Regions from separate parts of the Homo sapiens genome. Here region 1 is linked to region 2. The links are contacts of gene promoters, found by promoter capture Hi-C in human tissues and cell types (Jung and others, 2019). All regions are on one chromosome and are shown on one strand. The core of a region is centred on a gene start or on the middle of the fragment in contact, and the rest is flanking DNA. Distances in the headings are between cores, read along the strand shown. Region 1 overlaps CARMN (cardiac mesoderm enhancer-associated non-coding RNA). Region 2 holds the start of PCYOX1L (prenylcysteine oxidase 1 like).

Region 1 (6,059 bases), core at 1,946-4,445, 59 kb before region 2:
CAGCCTTGTTTGTGAAGGTCAAATGAGGCAGATGTCAAGTGCGAGCATATTTCCAGGCACATCATAAACCTATGATAAATGGCTGCCATTTCTATTATTAGCATGGGGCTGGGGCCATAGCAAAGCCCAACCATGGGAGGAACAGCAGAAGCAGGGAGAGAGCAAAGGTCTGAAGAGGCATCTGGGGAAGCTGTGGGAGCCCTTGCGTGGCCCTTTCCATGTCCCCTTTGTCGCACAGCTTCCCTGGGCCTCTGTTCCCAGAGTGCCCTCCCACCCCCTTGACACCCCAGCTGAGTTCACCAACCTCACACGCTCCCCACTTCCTCCCCAGGGAGGGTCGCTCTGGGGAGTTTTGAGCAAGCTCTGGGAACGCAGTTTGAGGCTGAAACAAGAGCATTGCAGGGAAAAGGGAAGAGAGGAAAAAAAAAAGACCTGCCCAGCCTAGAATCCCAAGCCTTGCCTCGAGCAGCTCAGGCCCTGCGGGCAGGTGGGGCATAGACACCAGGATCCCTGTGAGTCTCTGTCACTTGGCCCCTCGGTGAGGGCAGAAACTGGGAAAAGAGTGACAAAGGTAAGAACCATCACCTGTCCGGCTGACTGTGCAATAGGCACATTGGGACACGCTGTAATCATAATGAGAGCTCACATGTCATTGGGTGCTTCTGATGCACCCCACACTTGCCAAGTGCTTTATTTTACACAGCTTTTCTCATCTGATCCTCAAAGTCACTTATGAGTTAAGTACCAATAATTTTCTTTTCTTTTTTTTTTTTTTAAAGAGACAGGGTCTCACTCTCCAGGACCTTGCTTTCCAGGGCAACACCTATTGCCCAGGCTGGAGTGCAGTGGCACAGCCAGCTCACTGTAACCTTGAACTCCTGGCTCAAGCGATCCTCCTGCCTCAGCCTCCTGAGCAGCTGGGACCACAGTCACATGCCACCATGCCCAGCTAATTTTTTATTTGTTAATTTTTTGTAGAGATGGGGTCTTGCTATGTTGCCCAGGCTGGTCGTGAACTCCTGGCTTCAAGTGATCCTCCTGCCTTGTCCTCCTGAAGCACTGGGATTAGAGGCATGAGCCACTGTGCCTGGCTGAATTAGGTACCATTCTTTTAATTTTTCTTTTCTTTACTCAGAGATCCTTGTTTTGAAGAATTAGGTACCATTCTTATCTCCACTTTACTGAGGCGCCAGTGGTCACAGCACTCCCTCCTGGTTACACAGCTAGTAAAGATTGGCTCCAGGCAGCCCCACACACATTCTCACGGCTCCCTTGTAAGACCAACTGCTCATCGTATCATTTTTACAGAGTGATAACCGGAGTCATTATCTCTTGGCAATATTTAGGTGTGTGTTAGTCTTTCTGGAGAGGGGTTTGTGAACAGAGAAAGCATTGTTAGTATAAGTGAAGACCATCTGAACCCTGGAAAGCCATCTGTCTCCAGAAGCAAGGGGGCTTCTCCTTTTGGTGGTGGTGTTCTGCCTCTTTCCTGTGGTATTTTTCTCTTCTGTGCTGCTTGTTAAAAGAAATTCACATCATGTTAAAGGCATTGGTTCTCGGCGGGGTGCAGTGGCTGACAACTGTAATCCCAGCACTTTGGGAGGCCAAGGCTGGTGGATCACCTGAGGTCAGAAGTTTGAGACCAGCCTGGGCAACACGGCGAAACCCTATCTCTACTAAAAATACAAAAATTAGCTGGGCGCAGCGGTGCGTACCTGTAATCCCAGCTACTTGGGAGGCTGAGGCAGGAGAATTGCTTGAATCCCTGGGTTACGGAAGTTGCAGTGAGCCGAGATCACACCACTGCACTACAGACTGGGTGACAGAATGAGACTCTGTCTCAAAAAAAAAAAAAAAAAGGCATTGGTTCTCCCTCTGTCCTATAAGCTTTGCAAAGAGCATGGACCTCCAGGGTTCCAGGGGCTTCGCTGGGACTAGGCAATGCTTTCTAGAAAATACAAATGTTGGTTTCTTCTGGAATGTGTTGGGTGGGAGGAGCAGCAGGCTAGGTACCCGGTTTTCTGTAGATTTGCTGTGTGATTGTGGACAAGGGTATTCCCCTCTCTGAGCCTCAAGGGCCCACACCTACATGATGTGGTGGGGACACGACTGGACTCTAGAGTGTCCAGAGTCCTTCTAGATCAGACACGGAGGGACAATCTGACCCCACCCCATTCCTCGGTGTGAATGTGGGTGTGAATGCCGGTGAATGGCCGGCATAGATCTCCATGGAGCGAGAGAGAAACTGGTGCATCAAGGAATGAGGATGGCACTCCCTCATTGCCTCCCACTCCCTTGCCCCCATCCTACCCTTCATTTCTCAGCCCCAAAGTAGGCCCCAGTGACCTGGACCAGATGGATTTTCTGCACCAGGACTTGAAGTCTTGGAACATCAGTGCTGGAAGCACTCTAGTCTTGCACCCATTGTTCAGATGAGGAAACTGAGGCATGGAGAGGAGAAGCAAGGAACTCAAAGTGATTTAGCCAGTCACAGGTCCAGCTGGGACTCCAGCAAATGTCCTGACCTCTTCTGCTCACTGGGGGATCCTGATCGGCCAAATACTAAACAAAGGGGCCTCGGGAGGAAGGTGGAGAGAAGAGAGCCTTTAAGTTCCTTTTGCTTTGAAGATGGAATAATCATGACTTCCTTCTCCAAATATCTTTTGGCCCTTCCTAGAACCAGATGGCGGATGTTTGGAATTTATGTTGTAAATAGTGCTTAAGAAGGGGTGGGAGTGCAGATGTGTTACTTTCTTCCACCACCAGAAACGAGATCTGAGGGAGAGAAGTGGGGGAGGGAAGCTGACTATGAAAAGATTTTGGGAGAAGGAAGAAGTGAGGGGGAAGGAAGACAGAACAGCGATGTGAGATGGGAGGAGAGGGAGCGAAAATGGAAGAGAGATGGATGGAGTGAGACTGACAGCAAGACAGAGAGGAAGAGAAAGGGAAAGGAGAGAGCGATGGGAGAAGGAGGAGGAAGAAAGATGGGGAGGGGGCTCTCAGGGTGCAGGCGCAGAGACGCCCCTCTTGAGTTCAGGAGCAAACCCTTGAGTTTTCTAAAAATAGCTCAGTCTTTCCCCTAGCAGGGTTGGCAGCAGGGACCAAGAGAGGCACGCTTGCCCTTTTATGGTAAGAAAAAGTCCAGATCCTCAGAGGGGGAGCTAGGCTGGAGCCTGTAATTCTGGATGAAGTCCAGCCTCAGGGTCTGGGGTGGGACAGGGCTGAATGAGGGGGGAAGACTTAGTGGGATTTCCTGGCCTGAGTGGCCCTACCCTTGGGGAAGATAGGGCTGAGGTAGGTGTTGGCATGGGCCTCCCAGGAAAGCACTGGGGTCCTGGTAGATCCTTAGTGTTATGGCAGAAAGTCTAGAGACATTTGGTCCACGCTGTGTCTCTGTTTTATTTTGTTTTGTTTTGTTTTGTTTTCGAGACGGAGTCTCACTTTGTCCCCCAGGCTGGAGTGCAGTGGCGCGATCTCAGCTCACTGCGACCTCCGCCTCCCAGGTTCTAGCAATTCTCTTGCCTCAGCCTCCTGAGTAGTTGGCATTACAGGCGCCTGCCACCACGCCTGGCTAATTTTAGTACAGACAGGGTTTCGCCATGTTGGCCGGGCTGGTCTTGAACTCCTGACCTCAGGTGATCCGCCCTCCTTGGCCTCCCAAAGTGCTGGGATTACAAGCATGAGCCACCGCACCTGGCTGTCTCTGTTTTATAGAAGAAGAAACTGAGTCCCAGCCAGGGGAAGAGATTATAGCTCCCTGTGTGGGGGTGTAAGCCACCAAGCTAAATCGATGCCGGGGTCCACACGAGGACAGCTTATGTGCCTGTTATTCTGGAGAGCAGTGTGGTCAGTGGCAAGAACACTGTTGGGAGCCAGGAAACCCAAGGCCCATTCCCAGTTTGCTGTGTGACCTTGAGCCATCTGTGGACCCTCTCTGGTCTCAGCTTTCCTTACTGGGGTGATCTTAAGGGTTTTCTTAGCTTTTTGTCTCTCTGGGAATTTCATAGCTAGAAAGCAAAGCCTGGGCATAGAAGATGCTGCTATGAGGTGAAGGGGAATCCAAGAGCTGCTATTTTCTTTCTGTGCCTGGCTCACTTCCTGTGCTGAGCTGGGCAGGTAAAATCTAGAATGGACTGAGACTGATGGAGAGGAGTCCTTGCAGGAGACAGGAGATCATGGCTGGAATCCCCTACTGCCCAGCTGGTTGGGTCTAGACTCTTTTTTTTTTGGAAAGAGTCTTGCTCTGTCACCCAGGCTGGAGTGCAGTGGCGCGATCTTGGCTCACTGCAACCTCCACCTCCTGGGTTCAAGTGATTCTCCTGCCTTAGCCTCCTGAGTAGCTGGGATTACAGGCATGCACCACCACACCTGGCTAATTTTTTGTATTTTTAGTGGAGGGGGTTTCACCAAGTTGGTCAGGCTCGTCTCAAACTCCTGACCTCATGATCCGCCTGCCTTGGCCTCCCAAAGTGCTGGGATTATAGGAGTGAGCCACCAGGCCTGGCCGGGTCTAGCCTCTCGCTGGACACACTGAGGCCAGAGGAAGCTGCATGTTCAAGGTCGCGTTGAAGGTCATATGAAGAGTTAGGGCACAGCCAGGAATAGAACCAAGGGTTTCCATTCCCAGCCTTGGGCTCTTTCTTCTGCAGGAGGCCAACAGCATTGGAGACCATCTCTGGCCATTCAAAGGGACCTCCTGGGCAGAGCAGCCAGAACTCAAGATAGGCTGCCATCCTCTAACTATCTCTTGGAGATAGTTGCATCCTGCCTGGGCACCGCCTCTCCTCTGTCCCCTGCCCTTGGCTGTGAAGAGTGTACCATAGTCTCCATCTTTGGCTAGAAGGCAGAGAAGAAGCAAAGGATGTGGTCACTCTGGCAGCATATTTTGGCAAGTCTCTCCCTGTCATTGGGCCTCAGTTTCTGCATCTATAACATGAGGAGATAGGCCCTGATGCTCTTTAAGGTCCCTCAGCTCTAAAAGGACTATGATGCAATGAGTATGGGATTTAACACCAGGAATATTTATTAATCATCTACCAGGGGCGCCAGAGGGAATGAGATGGATATTGTATGACTGAGCTCTGCAGTCAGTGTGAGGTGGGGGCACATTGCCTGAGATTCCTGGAAGCCCCATTTCCAAGATCCTTCTGTCTTTATTCTAGAAAGCCCTGGGCTGACTCTCTGACCCCAGCTTGAACCCAGGTTCTGGCAGCTCTGGTCTTGAGCATCTAGGGAAGGCTGCTGGCCCAGGCGATGTAGTTGCCCACTGCTCCAGGACCCTCACAGGCGGTTTGGCCATGCCCTTGACTTCTTGGTCCTCTCCATCCTCTCCCACACTGCTGTCCACTGCCCCAAGCCCTGTCTGGTGGGCCTCCCAATCTACCCCATACCCTCCGTCTCTCCATGCTCTTTCTGTGACTCAGCCCAAGAGGATGCTTGCTTTCCTTTCCCAGACTTCTATGACACCCCCACCGACCATGAGGGAAAGGATGGAACAGAAGAGAAAAGGGGAAAAAAATAAAGCACTGTGGTTCTAAATCTGAAGCTTTCCTGTGACCCTCCTGGAATTTCCACGCAGACTCTCTGGAGCGTGTGAACAGGGCTCCCAGGGTCCCTGGCCCCCTTTGTCTCATTCCTGCCGGGCAGAAGGCCATCAGCTGAATGTTCCCCGGGGAACTCCATCTCACAACCAGGCTCCAAGTCTCTTTGGTCAGGCCTGGTGTCCCCTGGGAAGGCAGGAGGCAGCAGTGGAAAGGAAGTGGGAGGTAGGAGGTAGGAGGTCCAAGAGGCCCTTGTGCAAAGTCAGGGCAGAACTGATGTCATGTCTGGCTGGGAATCTGACATCCAGGCTGCAGGAAGGCTCAGCTCATGATTGTCCTAAAGCAGTTAGAGCTGGCATGTGAGATCCGAGGCTGGTGGTAGGAAAGGCCATGATGCCCAACCTTTTCTGATGTTTGGCTTCTCTCTATGGTGTCTGTACTAAGCTTACATACCTCTGGTGATGAGGAGCTCACTACAGATGTTCCTTAAGTTACTTCCTGATAAACTCATCGTCAATG
Region 2 (5,899 bases), core at 1,263-3,762:
AGAGAGTGCATGATCACTATGTCCCCAGATCCTGGTGGACAGTAGAGTTCATGAAGTATTTTTTCTGTGTTGAAAGAATAAACCACTTCCTCTCACAGTACTTACAAAGCCACTTCCAAGACAGCTTTGGATTTTATTTTAACCAGTGTGCTCCCATCCCCTCCATGTGCAAAGAGTCCCAAATTACCCATTTTTCCAGAGAAATTGATATTAAGGCCTAGAAGCTGCCCAAGATCAGGAAGCAGAAGACACCACTTCATTGTGAACCAGCTCATTTAACACAACTGACACCAATTCTCTAATTTACAGTAAGATGTCCTGGGGCACAAAGAAAAATCAAACAGGCTTCTGTCCCCCAGGACCCCAGCATGGAATGGGCAGACAGACTCCTGCGCAATTAGCAACGACAACCCATGATGAAGTGCAACAGGGTTCCAGGGAGTCCTGAAGGGGAAGCAGTGAATTCTGCCCCAGAGGGTGTGGGGACACAGCCTTCTTGGGGAAATAAGATTTCATGCAAGATGCTGGAGGACAATCAGCTTTGTCAGTGAGAGGACACGCACACTCTGCAAAGAGACCAGCATGAGAAGGGCAGCATATGGAACTATATGGGTGGGTTTAGAGGGTCCTGATGCCACTTGGGGGTTCTCAGATTTGGTCCTGCAGAAGCACAAGCATTAAGCCATCCTAACAGGAATCCGCATTCTTGTTGTGGGTAGAGTCCAAACCACCAAGGATGAACAGAGGCTCCCGTCAGAGGGCTGAGGAAAATCTAGAAAGCTGAAGGGCAGTGAGGCATTGCCAAGTGTCCTGCTCTGGATGACTCTTGGATGGGGCCAGAAGGGCCAGCTGGGAGGAAGGAGGCAGAGAGCTCCATGTTGCCACAATGCAGCAATTCTGCTGGGTGGAGGTCCTGCTCCTTCCCCAATGGTGAGAAATGTCCTGTCCTGTTGCCTGTTCCTAAGAAAACGGGGAGTGCCCTGCATATTCCCACAGCACACTCTGCTTACTCCTAGCCACACTGTATTCAAACGATCTAAGGACAGAGAGAGAACACATGGTCACTCATGGATACTGCCTGCCTAACTCTTCCACATCCTTCAATGCCTGGCTCAAACTCCACCTTCTCCATGAGGGCTTCTCTGGCTACTCTAGCCTCAGGATTCTCTTTTCTTGGCAAGCACTAAACTCTCAGTCTCAAACTGGTTTCTGGCATGCTTCAGTCTTCTTAACCCTGTATGGCCTGGGCTGTGGTTCTGCTACACAAGAAGCTTTAGCACTGCACTGGACCCTGTAAGTTTGTGATGCTTCTATCAGATGTTCCAGGCACTCCTGCCAACTGGGGTGCATGGAGAGTGGCCTAGCGGAATAGAGTCTTTGTCCTCCCACCCCGAAGCCCAGGATCTCTGCCTGTGGGAATATCACGTGTGAGGGACTTGAAAATCTTCACGAGTCATGTAGTTAAAATGACAGTTGTTGAGGGAGGAAAAAAAAAAGCAACTGTAAACACATATGACACTCTAGTCAATGATATGCACGATGACGTATTTAGTGAGGTGTCCTGATGTCTGCAATTTATTTGGAGATGCATCAAAATGTAGGCTGGATTCGTGGATGTCTAGAACAGTGCGTGATAGTTATGTGACACAGCAAGTATAGCAGCAGTTAATGGCAGAATGTAGGTGGTGGGTATACAGATGACCACTATAAAATTCTTGCTGTACATCTGAACATTTTCAAAATAAAGTATTGGGGAAACCACACACACAATAAACAAAAAGACTGTTGTTAAAAGTTCCCCGTTCTGTCAGCAAATCTCCAGCGGACCTAGTGTTCTGTCTCTGCCAGGACTGTCTCCTATCGACCTGGGGGTGGTTTGGCTTAGATGTTACTTCCAGGAAGCCCTCCCAGGGCCGCAAAGACAGGGTGAAGCGCCCCTCCTCTGCATGCACCGTACTTCCTCAGCTCAGCACGGACTTCCCTGTACTGTGAGGGCTCTACCCCAGCAGGAACTACAGCACCACGTCTGCTACACAGAGAGCCCTCAACCAACCTCTGTGAATGCCATCGCCCAGCCTCTCTGTCCTCTGTCACCCGGGCGCCTAGCCAACAGCCAGGACCATGGCAGATGCTCAGCGACCCTGGACCTCCCGGTGAGATCCGCGGCCAGTCCTGCCCAGGCCTCTTTTCCGTCCTAGGTGGCCCTCTTCACATGCCATGCCCCGGCCCCATCAGGACCTTCCCTGCCGCGTCCCCTTCGGCGCCTCTCCTCCACCCAGCTCCTTTTCCGAGGACCCCTCCCTCACCCAGCCGCCCTCCTATACCCCACCTAGCTGAGAACTGAGAACCCTTTACCCGCCGGCCCTCCCCAGCTGGGAACCCCACCGCGTCCTTCCCGCACCGATTTTGCCCGGCGGGGCATCTCCGCCAGCAGCGGCGGCGGCGAGGAGCGCGGTCAACGCGGCGAGCAGCGGGGCTGCGCGGGCCATGGCGGGCGGCGAGCGGGCAGCACGCCGGATTCAGGCGCTAGCGGGTTGGCGCTCGGCTCTCCGCCCCGCCCCGGCGCCCCACTGGCAGTCCCGCCTTCCTGCCGCGCCAGACCCAGCTCCGCATTGGCCAAGCCGCCGTCCCTCTCCAGCACGAGGCCCTCATTAGCTCCATCTCTCTCGGGGTAGGCTCTCTCATTGGCAGCTTCCCCGTTCCGCCCCGCCCCCCGCATGCGGGCTCCTCATTGGCTGGGTTCATTCTTGCCCGGCGCAGGTGTGCCCGCTTCGGGTCCTCAGCATCAGGACCAGGGCCCAGCTGCGGCAGAGGGATGAAACAGACCAAAGTGAAGCTTTGAAGACCTCGGTTATGTCCAGCCTCTGCGTTATTAGCTCTGTATCTTCTCTGTGTCTGTTTCCTCTATTATAACACAGACGAAGAATCCTGCTCCACCTTTCTAGGTGGTTGTAACCATCTTATGAGATAAGGGAAGCCTTTTGCAGTGTCTGCAAGTGCTGGAAATTGCTGACCAAGCATGCGGCCAGGGTGGTAAGACGCTACCTCATTCATATGCTGACACAAGCCCTATGCTTTCTATACTGCTGTTATTTATGTGTTTGCAGTTTTTATATAGTTAATATCTCTGCTTTCTGCTTCCTAAAAACCAAAAGGCGGGGGAAGGTTTCATCTACTCTCTTTTCAGAAAGGAGAAAAGGAGGGATAAACTCCCATTTTCATCCTCTAAGAAGACAAGAGCAGCAGCTCAGACTTGCTAGTTTATCACGCTGTGAAAAACAGACTTCCTCTGGCAGAAAATAAAGTTAGGGATGAGTTTCAGAATAAAGAAAATCCGGAGGCTGGGGGTGGCTCAAGCCTGTAATCCCAGCATTTTGGAAGGTCAGGCGGGAGGATCGCTTAGGCCAGCAGTTTGAGACCAGCCTGGGCAACATAATGAGACTCTGAGACCCCGTCTCTTAAAAAAAAAAAATTCGCCAGGAGTGGTGGTGCACACCTGTAGTCCTAGCTATTCAGGAGGCAGAGGTGGGAGGCTTGAGACCGGTAGTTTGAGGTTACAGTGTTCTATGATTGTGCCACTGCACTCCAGCCTGAGTGACAAGAGTCCCTGTCTTTAAAAATAAATAAATATATAAAAATAAATGAAATCCATATTTACTCAGTGAGATTATGGCTAAAATAAGAAACTGGGCCGGGCACAGTGGCTCATGCCTGTAATCCCAGCAGTTTGGGAGGCCGAGGTGGGCAGATCACTTGAGGTCAGGAGTTCGAGACCAGCTCGGCCATCATGGTGAAACCTCATCTCTGCTAAAATGCAAAAATTAGCTGGGCTTGGTGGTGTGCGCCTGTAATCCCAGCTACTCGGGAGGCTGGGGCAGGAGAATCGCTTGAACCTGGGAGGCACATGTTGCAGTGAGCCGAGATTGTACCACTGCACTCCACCGTGGGTGACAGAGCGAGACTCTGACTCAAACAAAAACAAAAACAAAAAACTGAAGTGATTCAGAGAATGGTGAAAGAGCTTATAGCTGGGGTTCTAACTCAGCACTGAGACTTAATTTACTTGGGCCAAACTGGATTACTACTAGTAAACTGGTAGATGAATAATCATGCATTTGTCATAATCTTAAACTTTTTTTTTTGGCAATGTTTGTGTCAGGATGCAACACCTTTTAAGTTCATTTCCAAAGGTTCAAGATACTCCCTTAAACAGTTTTTAAAACAAGCACTCATTGACCACTATGTGCCAAATTCTCTTATGAACTTATTCTGATTCTTGTCATTTTTTTGTAGGGTAAATCATGTTAGTGTTCAAATTCATCTTCTTGACTATACTTTGCTTGTAATTTTAGGGTCCTTTGTAACTCTTAAATCTAGAGCTGTTTTTTTCTGTTAGGAAGCCCTTCCAACCCTACTAGCCCATTGACAATGTGTGCGCTCATCAACATTGTAAGAGAGGTTCGAAAGAGCTGATAAGGGAAAAGCAAGTAGGCACAATTCTTGTGGCACAAAGGTGCCAGACTGGGAATGCAGTGGGGTGACTGTATCATTTTATCTGCTGTTGTGTAACAAACCATTAAAAAATGTAGTGGCTTAAAGTAACAGTCATCTGTTTTGCTCACACTACACCTCAGGCAGGACTCAGTGAGATCAGCTCATCTGTTCCATGTGGTATCATTTGGGGCTGCTCCACTGGGTGTGGGAGGATCCACCTTCAAGATGGCTCACTGGCTGGCAAGACAGTGCTGGCTCAGCTGAAAGCTCAACCAGGGCCCTCAGTTCCATTCCACAGGCTACTTCAGTTTGCTCTTGGCACGATGGTAAGGTTCCAGGGGTGAGCATCCCAAGACAGGAAGTGGGGATACCAGTTTCTTAAGATCTGGGTCCAGAAAATGGCAGTGTCACTTCCACTGTATTCTATTGGTCAAGCAATCACAAAGCTCCAAGGAAACTCAAGAATGGACATGGGCCCTACTCAACAAAGGTGTCAAGAAATTCTGGAGCCATGTTTTAAAACTACAGTGAACTTGAGAGCATGGACATCTGAGTGGATAGGAATAAGAATATACTCACTGACTAGCACTGGGAATATGGGACACATGGTTTATGGAGCTACAGTGTACAGACAGTATTGGAAAGATAATGAAAACGCAAGACCAAATCCCAGGGAAGGCTGGCCCAACAGAGGGCCATTCAGCCAGGAGTCTAGGTATATGGAAGCTAGCTGAGAAGCAGAGGTAAAGACAAGGCCAGGCAGTCACAAGGTGGGAAGGACATGGGGAAGCTGAAGGTCAGAACAAGGCCAAGTGTCTGTAATCTGGTTAGGAGAATAGTCAGCAGTAGTCAAAGGAAATAAGACACCTAGAACCAAAAGGCGAACCCAAGAAAACAAGTCAATGCCAGAAAAGAAGGCAGAAATAGGGCTGGGAACAGTGGCTCAGGCCTGTGAGCCCAGCACTTTGGGAAGCCGAGGCAGGTGGATCGCCTGAAGTCAGGAGTTCAAGACCAGCCTGGCCAACGTGGTGAAACTGTCTCTACTCAAAATACAAAAAATTAGGCGTGGTGGCAGGTGCCTGTAATCCCAGCTACTCGGGAGGCTGAGGCAGGAGAATTGCTTGAACCTGGGAGGCGGAGGTTGCGCTGAGCTGAGATCGCGCCATTGCACTCTAGCCTGGGCAACAAGAGCAAAACTCCATCTCAAAAAAAAAAAAAAAAAAAAAAGGCAGAAATAGGAATCCAGATCTAAGAAATATGTAGCAATCAGAAAGAGGCAAGTCAAGGAGGAATAAAACAGACAAGACTTCAACACGGAGGCAGGGTGGGGAAAGCCCACAGTGCATCCACTTGGCTATGCTGCTATGAGATCTCAAGGTACCTCTCCAGAGCATCAACAAGGCAG

Evidence for each region. Contacts are between HindIII fragments. The study calls those that stand out against the background at their distance.
Region 1: a contact is called between a fragment that was not itself captured here and the fragment with the promoter of PCYOX1L in region 2, in 1 of the 25 tissues and cell types used here (adrenal gland).

The regions. Positions count from the first base shown.
Region 1 is chr5:149,414,298-149,420,356 of GRCh38, reverse strand. All of the region lies in intron 1 of CARMN (cardiac mesoderm enhancer-associated non-coding RNA), which reads right to left. Among named protein-coding and RNA genes, the nearest start is that of CARMN, 10 kb to the right of the region's middle. RefSeq lists a cis regulatory region at 3,243 and enhancers at 3,159-3,328, 3,705-3,874. The HindIII fragment of the contact is 5,140 bases long and covers 626-5,765 here.
Region 2 is chr5:149,354,659-149,360,557 of GRCh38, reverse strand. PCYOX1L (prenylcysteine oxidase 1 like) reads right to left here and starts at 2,512. Exons shown (of 6, transcript NM_024028.4): 1 at 2,402-2,512. The coding sequence starts at 2,489. GRPEL2-AS1 (GRPEL2 antisense RNA 1) reads left to right here and starts at 2,916. Exons shown (of 2, transcript NR_132366.1): 1 at 2,916-3,033. RefSeq lists silencers at 2,273-2,482, 2,503-2,662, 2,683-2,732 and an enhancer at 2,458-2,752. The HindIII fragment of the contact is 6,206 bases long and covers 1-4,551 here.